Linked DNA regions of Homo sapiens: all the other regions are linked to region 3. The links are contacts of gene promoters, found by promoter capture Hi-C in blood cells and fetal thymus (Javierre and others, 2016). All regions are on one chromosome and are shown on one strand. The core of a region is centred on a gene start or on the middle of the fragment in contact, and the rest is flanking DNA. Distances in the headings are between cores, read along the strand shown.

What was found. The method cuts DNA at HindIII sites, captures the fragments that hold promoters and counts their contacts. A CHiCAGO score of 5 or more calls a contact.
Region 1: a contact is called between a fragment that was not itself captured here and the fragment with the promoter of UTP14C in region 3, in 1 of 17 cell types (neutrophils). The highest score is 7.5, in neutrophils.
Region 2: a contact is called between a fragment that was not itself captured here and the fragment with the promoter of UTP14C in region 3, in 1 of 17 cell types (neutrophils). The highest score is 5.8, in neutrophils.
Region 4: a contact is called between a fragment that was not itself captured here and the fragment with the promoter of UTP14C in region 3, in 1 of 17 cell types (naive CD4 T cells). The highest score is 5.1, in naive CD4 T cells.
Region 5: a fragment that was not itself captured here is called in contact with the fragment with the promoter of UTP14C in region 3 in 1 of 17 cell types (non-activated CD4 T cells); the score reaches 5.0 in non-activated CD4 T cells.

Annotation. Positions count from the first base shown.
Region 1 is chr13:51,425,636-51,428,335 of GRCh38, reverse strand. The region is part of intron 4 of INTS6 (integrator complex subunit 6); the gene reads left to right. Among named protein-coding and RNA genes, the nearest start is that of INTS6, 26 kb to the left of the region's middle. The HindIII fragment of the contact is 8,376 bases long and covers 1-2,700 here.
Region 2 is chr13:51,466,895-51,469,594 of GRCh38, reverse strand. No RefSeq gene overlaps it. Among named protein-coding and RNA genes, the nearest start is that of INTS6-AS1, 15 kb to the right of the region's middle. The HindIII fragment of the contact is 4,257 bases long and covers 1-2,700 here.
Region 3 is chr13:52,023,386-52,026,085 of GRCh38, reverse strand. It overlaps UTP14C (UTP14C small subunit processome component), which reads right to left and starts at 1,395. Exons shown (of 2, transcript NM_021645.6): 1 at 1,149-1,395. It overlaps ALG11 (ALG11 alpha-1,2-mannosyltransferase), which reads right to left. Exons shown (of 4, transcript NM_001004127.3): 3 at 1,149-2,080. The HindIII fragment of the contact is 12,744 bases long and covers 1-2,700 here.
Region 4 is chr13:51,441,749-51,444,448 of GRCh38, reverse strand. The region is part of intron 3 of INTS6 (integrator complex subunit 6); the gene reads left to right. Among named protein-coding and RNA genes, the nearest start is that of INTS6, 9.9 kb to the left of the region's middle. The HindIII fragment of the contact is 387 bases long and covers 1,065-1,451 here.
Region 5 is chr13:51,407,776-51,410,475 of GRCh38, reverse strand. All of the region lies in intron 4 of INTS6 (integrator complex subunit 6), which reads left to right. Among named protein-coding and RNA genes, the nearest start is that of INTS6, 44 kb to the left of the region's middle. The HindIII fragment of the contact is 1,192 bases long and covers 766-1,957 here.

The DNA.
Region 1 (2,700 bases), core at 107-2,606, 600 kb after region 3:
AAAAAAAAAGAAAAAAAAAGTCATTTTAAATTTGAAGCTCTCAAATTAATTTTTCTTCTTAATAGGACACATAATAGTTAACAGCTTCATTCAACTTTATATATTAATAAATTAAAAGTCTTTTGAATGTTTGTTTTGTTTTTATCCATAATGATTTTGCTTGAGAAGTTATTTCTGTTTTCTGTTGTAAAGTATTCTTATGTGCGAGGTGATGCATTTGAGGTGCTGTCTACTGCCTTTGTAGAAATGCCCTTTGGGGTACAATGTATTTTGTTTCCATATGTCTGGATCTGTTTTGTTTGTAAAATTTGTTTTGTGGAGACCTCTTCTAGCTTAAAAATATCTTGAAATATACATGTGTATTGGAATTGCTCACCTTTCTTCCTATGTCTTTCCTTGGGAAGGATTTTGGAAAAATAGGGCAATGTGTTTATAACCTGAAACTACCTTGCTAGTAAGGTTAGGAAGATTTTCCTGTGGGCAGAGTTTTTACCTTTTAGTTCTATCTTTTACAATACTAGCATAGTATTGACAACAGAGCCTATATTTTTAAAAAGTATTGATTATAAACATTGGTGTATTGAATCTGGTAGTCATTGAGTTCAAAATTGATTACCGTTGCACCTTATTATCTGAGGTGGAAGGTTCATTTGTTTTAAAGCAAAAGTAAATTATTTTGAAGTTGGAACATAGGCCGGTGAGTTGTTTCAAGGTTAGGAATGTCTTTGATTCCCTGCGTGTTTTCTTCTTAATGTACCAACGAGACTCTCGTTGGAGCAATGAGAAAGTTATCCTAGATTAATTTTTGCTAAATGTTGTGAGATATTGTGAAATATTCTAGCCTAAATAATTATGGGATTTGTTTTAAGGAGCTTTTCAATTCATAGAAAAGCATAAAGATGCTTTTTGTATTGTTCTTCTGTGTTTGTATTGTGCACGTGCATGAATGCTAGATATGATCTGTATTCTGGTTCCTACTAGGGAATAACAATTTTGCCTTTATATCACTGTCTTTTCACATCTCTCAACCTTTGCCTCTGGCAGAACTTGATTCTTTTTTAGATTTATTCAGTGTATGAATGTGTCATTAATTTCCACATTAGAGATATGTGTACATAATTCCTGTTTGGCTTGTGGCTGGTGTTGGTATGACCTATTACTTTTTATGGAGTTGTATAATTCCACCTGTATGATATCCTTTGCTTAAGAGTCATGTTATCCAACATTGTATATTATATCTGTTCTGTTGGTGCTGTTTTTCAGGAGTAAATGTTCTTGCTGCTTTAAAATCATCCTTATATCATATGAGGAAATATAGAACTCATTTAGTCTTATATTTTACAAATGAGAAAATTGAGATCCAGGGAGTCAGAGTGATTTGCTTAGGTTATAACATTTGTTACTGCCAAAATCTAGATTAGAATTTATCAATTCCAAAGACATTCCAGCACCTCCAGACCAGTGCTTTCTTCCTGATACGGCTGCTGCCTTTTTGCTTGATTCTAAATTTGTGTGTTCTTAAAATTTACCTTCTATTTATCTGATTTCTTATTTGTCTACTTCAGCTTTCTATGTAAGTGTCTTTTAGGTATTCTGTTCTTATTCAGTGTTCCATGAAAAACTATTATGACCAGAGCATTTCTAGGCAATGAGGATAACAAAGATAAACAGGACATATCTGGTTCTTAATATTTAAGTTCACAGTGTTATGGGGGAAATCACCTATTAAATGGTTTTATGAATGATAAAATAAGGATACATACTAAGTGTGTGGGAGTACTAAAGCAGGGGAAGGGTTAATATTACCTTTCGTGTGTCAAATCTTGTATAATGTGCATTTTTATAGTATAATTTCATTTTTGAATGACTGAATTCAAGGATCTTATGGATGATTTGGCATAGGGTGTGGCTCCTACCTTGTATCTGTGAATTTTAGGAAGAAGCCCAGTGTAAAGTTGTTTTGAGCCTAGAAAATAGTTTTCCTAGCGGCAGGAAAAATGTGGTGCCATATTGTCTCTTGACCTGGCTAAGTATGTATAGGCCCAAATGAACCAATTTCTTATAACTTGTTTGTCAGAAAAATGTAGGAATACTGTTCTCTGGGACAGCTCGTCACTTAGCAATGTGTTATGAGTTAGGAAAGAAAAGTAATAGATACATTATGAATGAAAATCTTGAGCTGTATATGATCATTTTACATTAATTTATGATTTCAATTATATCCTTGGGCCTCATTTAATAAAAGTCCAGGCCATTGTCTGAAGTGTCATGAATGTATTTCTAGTGTAGTCTTTTTGGATAACTGTCTAGGATTTCTGATGATTACTTGGATTGAATTTTATGTGTATATATTTGGCTTTTTTTTTAATGCAGCTATTTGATAAAACTGGTTGTAGCATTTTCACTTACGAGGAGTGTGTTTGATAGGACTTTGAATTCTGAAACACGATAAAACTATATTACTTACTTCCTTAGTAGTTACCGTTGATGTTGATAAACATACCTGTGTCCAGATACTCAGTACTGTTTGTCATGTTATATAACTGATATATCAAATGTTTTGGTAGAATCAACAAATTAGAGTTATTGAAAAGGATTTTCTTCTGATATCTGCAGATAATCCTCTCTAGTACTGCTTTGCAATGGAAAACTATTCTGTACTATGATTCCAGGAACACATGGCTAATGAATATTGCTCAA
Region 2 (2,700 bases), core at 16-2,515, 560 kb after region 3:
TTGTGAATACAAGTGAGCCATAAATGTTCATGATACAAACTTTAGTATGTAAGAATCATATTCTCCCTAAGAGTTAGAGGAACAGTTTACGAAGATATGTAGTAATAGATGCAGTACTGAGAATTCACATGAAAGTGCTGAATGGAGTCACTAAAAGAACATGGACTCCAGTCTTTATTTTTGCTTTTCTAGATAGATTGTGCTTTTATTAAAAGAATGATCAAAAGTACCATACAAATACAACACAGGATATAGTGAAAGTTCCCTTATCCAACACTGATATTGTGATTGGTGAAGGGAAAAAGTCAATTTAAACAGAGAAATTTAAAAATGATACATACATATCTTTAATTTTAAATTTTAACTTAAACTACAAATGTATTTCATTTGCCAACAAAATATCTGTAAATTTCTACTCACTTTTTCGAGACTTTTGCAGTTGTTTTGCTTATACTTAATTTGCCAGTAATTTCTTTAGTGACTGACTTTTGTTTCATATTTCACTGGTTTACCTATTTAATTAATTAATTTCAATAACAAGTTTAATTGGTATAAGCAGGTTTGAGAAAAAGGCAACTGACTTCAGTAGCATAAAACTTGTAGTAGGAGCAGAGGTTCACAAATGTATCAGAGGGAATTCTACTAGTTTTGAGCTACAAGCATGTGTTAAAGAACAAGAGCCAGACATGGTGATTTGTACCTGTAGTCCAACTACAAGGGAGGCTGAGGCAAGAGAATCACTAGAGCCCAGGAGTTCGAGGCTGCAGTGAGCTGTGATCATGCCATTGCACCCAAGCCTGGGCGACAGAACAAGACCCTATCTCTAAAAAGAAAAAGTAAAGAAAGAAGGAACAAGGAGCATCAGTTAATCTGGCAAATTAAGTAGATGTAACGAGAACTCCTTATGTGCCTATCATCAGTGATAGATATTGCATAATAAGATGTTAAACTATTTTATTCACACTTTCTTTTAGAACATCGGTCTTTGGAGATTAGTGAACTGAATATTAAAATGACATTCTCACTAACGTCCCCTTTTATCCTTCCCATTTTCCTGTGAGCAAATTCCTGCCTTACATGATACTTTGTTGATGGTCTCCCTGACATCTTCCTTTATGCCTGTGTCTCCCTTGAATCCCGGTTCCTATAGTCATCACAAGGTTGGGAAACCTGTCCCTAACCCCCAATTCCCACAGGTGGGCCAACAATAAGCATCGTCATACTTACCCAGCATTCTGCCTCTGAATTCAGATCCAGGTTCTTGTTCCATGTTGCTTTGTGACCCTGGACTATGTTAATTCATGTTACTTAGTTTCCATTTCTTTTTCTGAAAAAGTAGGAACACTTAGCTTACAGGCGTGTTAGATTAAATGACCATGGGGAAGCTCTGACACAAGTAGACAGTGAAGTGTCCGTTTTCTTTAACGCCATTTCCTTAATACCAGTAATATTTTGCCTTTGCCTGTTACTTCCCATCACATTCCTGACACAGCGCTCTGAACCCTCACAGGCATGCTTGTTGAATCTCCTAGAGGTTGACCACCTGCTTGCCAGCGTGGCATCTCAGCCCATCAAGAGTCCAGATGACTTGCTTGCTTGTCCATATTATTCCCATAGCTACCAAAGCAATCTCCCTGAAGAACTTGGCTGGGTCTTTAGTCTCACTGGTTAGTGTGGGCAGCTGTCCACTTCTCACAGCTCCCTCTGCATACATCCTCTCCACTTCTGATTTCCTCTATAATTGTCATTCAACACACATTAAACATTTACTAAATACTGGTTATATTAGGGTTCTCCAGAGAAACAAAAGCAATGAAAGATAGATCTATCTATCGATCTATCTATCTATCTATCTATCTATCTATCTATCTATCTATCTGTCTGAGATTTATTATACGGAATTGACTCACATGATCATCGAGACTAAATCCCAAGATTTGAAGTTGAAAAACTGGAGACCAGGAGAGTCAGTGGCATAGTTCTAGACTCCCCTGAAGGCCTGAGAACCAGGAGAGCAGATGGTAAAGTTCCAATCTGAAGGCAAGTAGGCTCAAGACCTGAGAAGAGCCAGTATTACAGTTTGAGCCTGAAAAACACCAATGTTCCAGCTCAAAGGCAGTCAGGCAGAAGGAACTCTCTCTTACTTAGCCTTTTTGTTCTATTTAGCCCTCAACTGATTGCGTGAGGTCCACCCACATTAGGGATGGCAGTTTGCTTTACTCAGTCTATAGATTCAAATGTTAATTTCATCCAGAAACACCCTCATAGACAGACCAAGAATAATGTTTGAGCAAATACCTGGGTATCCTGTGATCCAGTCAAGTTGACACATAAAATTAACCATCACACTGGGAATTGTGCTAGTTACTTTGCTTGTATTCTTGTTATTATTTCTGGTCTCAGAGAAGTCATTGCTCCATCTTTCACATCCTAATGACCCCATCTATGAAGCTGACCCTGTCCTCTCCTGCTCCAGAGACCTGCCATACCAATTATACCTTTCTCACAGCCTCAGTTTTTCCTTGCTCTTTTTCTACCTAAAAACATATTAGAGTTTTTCCTTTATCTTTTTTTGTGCAAAAAGAGAAGTTATATATTCTCTGACTTCATTCACTACAACTCCTAGTGATCTAATTTACCTTATTTCTTCTGTATCTATATTCCACTAAAAAGACGTATAGGCCAGGAGTGGTGGCTCAT
Region 3 (2,700 bases), core at 146-2,645:
CACGGCACTTGCCTGTGTAGCCTGTTGGTACCACCAGAGGGTGGGAAGCCTCTGACAGGCCAAGCAGCTCCTGTCTCCACCACATCCCTAGCATCCACCCAAGCGCTCAGCAGAGTGAATGCTTAGTAAGTTTCTATGGAAGGAAGCACAGGAGGTCAGATCCCATGCAACAGGTTGGGTCAACAAGTTCTTGCTTAATGTCTGGGCCTAGCACTACACTACTAACTAGGAGTAAAAAGAGTATAAGAGAAATTGAAGTCTTAGTTTAGGAAATGTCACTTTTATGTTATCCTCATTTCCCCTAACAACTAACAGTGTGAGGCACAAAGCGCTTGAGAAATATATGTGGACCCAAATTAAACACAAAGCAGTACTTGATTTTATAGCAAAATGTGTGCTTAACAGGTCAGAATAGAGATAGCAGTTTGTGCCAGAATAAACAAGAAAGGCTAAAGTGCAAGGAGATTTAAGTTGAAGACTTATGATGCAATCTGGCACAAAGAGGAGAGCCATTCCAATGGTGAGGGTAGAATCAATAAAAGACTAAAAGAGTTACTGTGAGAAGCCCCTATGCAAACAGTGGTTCTCAACTTTTGATGCATAACAGAATCACTTAAGCAGCATTATCAAAATACATCTACCTGGGCCTTGTCCAGAGATTCTCATTTGGCCATTCTGTAGGATTAGGGTAGGGCCCAGGAATCTGTACCAGTAAGTATGTAGTGGGGTTAGATGGAGAGAGAAAATGTTGCTGTTAAGAGCAGGGGCTATCTGGGTTAGAATCCGGGCTCTACCACTTACTGTGTAACTGAACTCGAGCAATTTCTAAACCTTCCTGTGCCTGAGTTTCTTTATTTATAAAATGGGAATAACAATAACACCTATCAAACGGGTTTAGAAAGGCTTAAATTAGATAATACATGTAAAAATCTCAACACAGTGGCCCACACACAGGAATTGGTCAATAAATACTAGCTGCTATTATTAACTACTATCTTACAAGGTCTCAAGTGAGGAAAGCACATTTGGTGGATGAGGGCAAGAGAATTAGGGCATGATGCAGATTTCCAGAGTATTATCATTTTATCAAAAGAACTTAAAATGTGTATCTCATGGCACCAAACAAGTTGTTTAAAGGCCAAACTCACCAATCCCAAAATGCTCGTTCCACATGGTATGCAGACCAATTGTTGCTTCAGACAAATAATTCTTTAATTCATCAAATGGAATGTTTATTTTAAATTCCACATATTCTTGAACTCCTAAATCCTCAGACAGCCTTCTCAGTTGGTTTACCCTAAGTTCATCATCTTTGTTACGACAACCTCCAATGAGGACAAGTTTAAGCGAAGGAGGTGACTCAACCATCTTCTTATTCAGCAATTTAGCAAAGGCTCTGATCTGCAATGGATGATTCTTTTCCGGCCTAAACTGGCCAACAGAAACCAGCAAATGTCCTGGGGTCATCTTTTTCTCATGTAAGGGAATGTCCAGAAATGTCTGCACATCACAAGGTGGATAAACAATGTTAGTGCAATTCCCAACTTTCCATAGTGAGAGAATATGGTTTAGTGTCCAAGAAGAATTGACCATGACTACATCACTGCAAGAACCAACAAGTCCATAAATAAAAGCAAATAAATAGTAGTAGATGAGCTTTACTTTGCTGAGAAAAGGATTCCTGGTAATGAAGGCTGCATTATTAAATCCAATATTTTGATTCTTCACTACAGAGAGCATGTCGGTGCTGATAGTAGGATAATGAACATAGCTTCCAACTTGGCAACCCCCTATATACTTAAACAGAGGAAGCGTAAAAGCGTATCCCATTGAATCAATGTAAACATCAGGAACACACTGCATTAGAGCTTCCCAGCCAAGAAAAATGGATCCTAGACTTTGGCCCAGCAGTGTGAAGTGAGGATACAGTGAATCTTCCACAAGATAGCGTTTCCTTAAAAAAACAAACTGCACTGGGTGAATTAATCTGATGTTAAATCTTCTGAAAGCACCTTCTAGTATCTGTTGACCGTTGACATTAACATCGCCGGTATAAACAACATAAACTGCTTCAGGATACCTAAAATAGAATGTAATGGTTAAGAATATATTAAGTTACAAAAATTAGCCAGACACGGTGGCACGCACCTGTAATCCCAGCTACTCAGGAGGCTGAGGCAGGAGAATCGCTTGAACCCAGGAGGCGGAGGTTGCAGTGAGCCGTGATCATGCCACCGAACTCCAGCCTGGGTGACAGAGTGAGACTCCATCTCAAAAAAAAAAAAAAAAAAAAGCCTGCTACCTACCCTGAGAGACTGAGAGCCGAGACTGCATCACTGCACTCCTGCCTGGGCAACAAGTGTGAAACTCCGTCTCAAAAAAACAAAAACAAAAACAAAAAAAAGAATATATTAGGTTAAAATCAAGCAAAAAGTTGTAGATAACTATTTTCTTACAGTTATAAAGAAGATTTGATTTTTTTTTTTTTTTTGGAGACAGTTTCACTCTTGTTGCCCAGGCTGGAGTGCAATGGCGCCATCTTGGCTGACAATCTCTGCCTCCCGGGTTCAAGTGCTTCTCCCGCCTCAGCCTCCCGAGTAGCTGGAATTACAGACATGCACCACCACGCCCGGCTAATTTTGTATTTTTAGTAGAGTCAGGGTTTCTCCATGTTGGTCATACTAAAAATGATGTTTTCTA
Region 4 (2,700 bases), core at 9-2,508, 580 kb after region 3:
TAGAAATTGTTCAAAACAAATCTTAAATACAAAAGTCAAAAATAGGCCGGGTGCCATGGCTCACACCTGTAATCCCAACACTTTGGGAGGCTAAAGCAGGTGGATCACTTGAGGTCAGGAGTTTGAGACCAGCCTAGACAATGTGGTGAAACCCCATCTCTACTAAAAAAAAAAAAAAAAAAAAAAAAAAAAAAAATTAGCTGGGGGGTGGTGGCATGTGCCTGTAGTCCTAGCTACTCAGGACTCCTGGAGTCCTGGTTGGAGGATTGCTTGAACCCCGGAGGTGGAGGTTGCAGTGAGCTGAGATGGTGCCACTGCACTCCAACTTGGGCAATAGGCTGTCTCAAAAAAACAAAACAAAACAAAAACAAACAAAAAACCAAATAATATATTCTACTTTAAAGAGCATTTTACTTTCTTTCGATATAGGAGAATATCGATAATTATGTATTATATACAGCTGGAAATTAAAAGATCAGGAACAAATCTAATATTTGACATCATTGGACTTATTTGTGTATTTTGAATTAAGGTCATTTGTGGTCAAAATTAGTTAAAAGGATTGTTTATTTAGTCATGTTCATGTCATAGATTTCTACAAAGAGATTATATAGTATTTTATAGCTTGAAATGTTTCTCAAATATATAAAATGATTTTTGGCCATAATAACCTTGACTCAGATTTATACTCTACAATTAAATTAGTCTTGGTGGACTTTTCTTGTTTTTTGGGGCTTTTTAATTTTAAAAATGTTTAGATACAAAGTCTCTCTGTGTTACCCAGGCTGGTCTTGAACTCCTGGGCTCAAGCAGTCTTTCCACCACGCCTTCGGAGTAGCTGGGACTGCAGGCTCTTGCCATTGTACTCAGCTTAAAAAAGTAATTTCCTTATATAAACTTTATTTTTGTTTAGTCTTACTATTAGTCTATAAAAGTTTACCATGGTTGCCAGACTTTAAACAAAATACTAAATTTTTAAAAAATTTTGTTTTGGTTTGTATTTTCTGATCTCTAACATTTTTATTGAGATGTAACTTAAATAAACAAATCTGAAGTGTGAAGCTTAGTGAATTTTAAAATATACACTCTTAAAAAAATTGAACATTTGCATCTACTGACAAGTTTTCATTAAACTTTCTGTGTTTTATTATTATTTTCATAGGGCTTTAGAATGGAAGTGATTTTAGAAGTTTACTCAATTTTCCTCATTTTGTAGGTGAAGAAAAGGCATAGAAAGGTTCAGAGGCTTAATTTCTTCACATTTATGAAATATTTTTAAAAATTGTAATTGGTGATAGAACAGTTATGGAGATTTTATTAAGGATTTGTATATTATTTAATAACATTTTATTTAAATGTATAAGCAGTGGATCTGAGTTGCTTTCTTCAGTTTTGTGTATAGTTCTGTAATGCAGTATGATTTCTTTCAGTTCTTGTTTGAAAGCTAAGCTTTTCATTTTGTCTCTGTTACATTTAGTCTTTCTTGTAACATTCTATCTAAATACTGTTTGTTACAAAATTAGCTTTAGTTGGATTCCTTCCTCCCTTTGTTTGGCAGAAAGTAAATGAATTTAGGGCAGCGGTCCCCAGCCTCTTTGGCACCAGGCTGGTTTTGTGGAAGACAGTTTTTCCATGGATTGGTAGAGGTGGTTGGGATGGTTTCAGATGAAACTTTTCCACCTCAGGTCATCAGGCGTTAGAGTCTCATAGGAGCGCATAACCTAGACCCCTTGCATGCACAGTTCACAACAGGGTTTGTGCTCCTATGAGAATCTAATGCTGCTGCTGATCTAACAGGAGGCGGAGCCCCAACGGTAATGCTCACTTGCCCACTGCTCACCTTCTGCTGTGCCACCCATTCCTGATGGGGTCCAGGGGTTGGGGACCCCGATCTAGGGGATAAACCAGGAAAGACTTCTTAGAGGTAGTAGCATCTGAAGAATAAAAGTTTACTGAGAACCCAGAACCCTTGCAGGTTAGGGGGCAATGCAGAGTGAAGATCATGATCAATGGCCAGATGCGATGGTTCATGCCTAGTAATCCCAGCACTTTGGGAGGCTGAGGTGGGTGGATCACCTGAGGTCAGATGTTCGAGACCAGCCTGGCCAACATGGTGAAACTAAAAATACAAAAATTAGCTGGGCATGGTGGCGGGCGCCTGTAATCCCAGCTACAGGCACCCTCAGGAAGCTGAGGCAGGAAAATCGCTTGAACCCAGGAGGCAAAGGTTGCAGTGAGCTGAGATTGCGCCATTGCACTCCAGCCTGGGCGACAAGAACGAAACTTCATCTCAAAAAAAAAAAAAAATCATGGTCAAAAACATAGGAGAGGCTGTCCCTGTGGCTCACACCTGTAATCCCAGCACTTTGGGAGGTTGAAGAGGGAGGATCACTAGAGGCCAGGAGTTCAAGACCAGCCTGGCCAACCTGGTAAAACTCCATCTCTGCCAAAAACACAAATATTAGCCAGGCATGGTGGTGCACGCCTGCAATCCCAGCTACTCAGGTGGCTGAGGCAGGAGAGTCACTTGAACCTAGGAGGTGGAGGTTGCTGTGAGCCAAGATTGTGCGACTGCACTCCAGCCTGGGTGACAGAGTGGGAATCTGTCTCAAAAAAAAAAAAAAGGCTGGAGGTGGGGAGGCCTGGGGACGTATGGGATAGTTGACAGGATTTTATACTGTAATTACTTTAAGGCCTAGA
Region 5 (2,700 bases), core at 112-2,611, 620 kb after region 3:
GAGATTATCATTTCCTCATTGCTGAAGCATCTTTATTGAGTCAATTAGCCATGTTTTTGTGTGGCTGTTTCTGGACTTTCTATTCTGTTTTGTTGATAACCTGTGTCTTCGGCAATACAACATGGTGTCAACTACTGTGGTTTTATAACGAGTTTTGAAATCATTTAGTTAAGTCTCCAACTTTGTTTTTATCCAAATTGCTTTGTTTATTCTAGGTCCTTTGAGTTTACATGTAAATTTAGAATCAGGTTTATTAGTTTTTATAAGAAAGCTTACTGCAATTTTTATTGGAATTACATTGAATCTATAAATCAGTTTGAGGGAAAAATGACACTTTTTACCTTATTGGCTATTCTGATCCATGAGCATGGCATATTTTTCAGATTTAAGTGTTTGATTTTTTCAGCAATATTTGTAGTTTTCAGATGGGAGTTTATACATATGTTGGGTATTTTATATATTTTGATGTTATTATTGATTGGTCTTTTTACTTTCAACTTCTGATGATTTGTTGTTAGTACATAAACAGTTGATTTTTTTGCATCTTTACCTGGTATCCTGTGACCTTTCTAAATTTTCTTGTTACCTAGTAGCTTTTCTAGATTCCTTGAAGCTTTTTACGTACAAAATCATCTTGTCTGAATATAGACAGGTACACTTCTTCCTTTCCAAATCTGTCTGCCTTTTATTTCTTTTTCTTGCTTCAATGTACTGGTGGAAGTAGTGAGAATGGACATTGTTGTCTTGTCTTGAAATCTAGAAGCTTAACATTAATTTGTTAACATTAACATTTAATTTTAAGGAACACCAATTGTTCCTTAAAATTAAAAAAAATACTACCTATGATGAATTAGCATTGTAACAAAAAAAATACAAATAATAAATTACCTAACCTATATCAGACAGCACAAATAAAGGCAGTTGACATTGCCAAATTTCTGAGAAAACAAATAAAACTATCAAAGCTATGAGATGGTATCATAACTGTTTCACTGACTATGAAAAACTGTTACTGAGGAATCTAATATCTGTCCAAAGCCAACATTTAAAAGATAAGTGTTATATTGGCTGGTAGTTTGTAATTGAAATAAGAATATAAATATTCTCCTAGAAAGTACGAATGAAATACTCAGAGTCTTTAGTATACCTTGAAGTTATACTATTATTATTATTATTATTATTATTATTATTATTATTATTATTATTATTATTTGAGACGGATTCTCACTCTGTCACCCAGGCTGGAGTGCAGTGGTGCAATCTCGGCTCACTACAACCTCTGCCTCCACTGTGCCCAGCTGAAATTACATTTTTCAAACTCATGGTGCTAAAAAGGTCAAGATCATTAAGCACACGTTATAAAATATGACCCTGATGCTCTGCTTAACTTCTAATGGCCAAAAGGAATTTAATTAGTAGACTTAGTCTGGGGAAGGCGTAGACTCAAACTCTGTGATACTCAAATGCTATGGAGCTATGATATGGAAGAAGAAAGGGATATGCAGCTGCCTAGATAATTTTATGCTATAGTTGGAAAAATTTTTATGCACATTTAATGTTAAATTTGGGGAAGCAAAGAAATATATTAAAGTGATGATACACCTTAGAATTTAAGTTATAGGTTTTAGGTTTGTTGGAGGATTAAATAAGATGATTAAAGCAAGGTAACTCATTGAAACCTTGTCACATTATAAGCATTCAGTAAATGATGAATTATCAGTCTCTTAACTTGTGTGATTATGGGCAATATTTGGTGTGGTCAAAAGGTCTTTAAGTTTTTTTCCTACTTCTTTGAGTTATCAAGAAAGAGATTATTATTTTTTAATACAACCTAGTTTCACAAATAGGGACATACATAACATACTACAGAAGGTTTCTGTTGATGTTTTTGTGCTTGAGGCATTAAGTGCTCTCAGTTACCTGGAAAAATAATGGCTCTCCAAAATGATTCAAAGCTTTTCCTTTATAATTTTTAAGATTCCTGGCCAATGTGCTTTAAATGAACTTTCTGACTTATTAATAAAACTCAATGACCGGGTGCAGTGGCTCTTGCCTGTAATCCCAGCACTTTGGGACACCAAGGAGGGTGGATCACCTGAGGTCAGGAGTTCAAGACCAGCCTGGCTAACATAGTGAAACCCCGTCTCTACTAAAAATACAAAAAGTTAGCTGGGCATGGTGGCAGGCGCCTGTAATCCCAGCTACTCGGGAGGCTGAGGAAGGAGAATCACTTGAACCTGGGAGGCAGAGGTTGCAGTGAGTCGAGATTGCACCACTGCACTCCAGCCTGGGCAACAAGAGCGAAACTCCATTTCAAAAAAAAAAAAAACCCATCTCAATGGTTTATTCTAGTCTAAATGTTTTATGGTAGATTCTGAATAATTTGGGCTATTATTTAACAATTATCTATAGTTATACTTTAGCATTGAAAATGTTATTGTACTTTTTTTTTTTTTTTTGAGACCGAGTCTCACTCTGTTGCCCAGGCTGGAGTGCAGTGGCACGATCTTGGCTCACTGCAACCTCTGCCTCTTGGGTTCAAGCGATTCTCCAGCCTCAGCCTCCCGAGTAGCTGGGATTACAGGCGTGTGCCACCATGTCTGGCTAATTTTTGTATTTTTAGTACAGACGAGCTTTTGCTGTGTTGGCCAGACTGGTCTCAAACTCCTGGCCTCAAGTCCCAAATTGCTGGGATTTAGG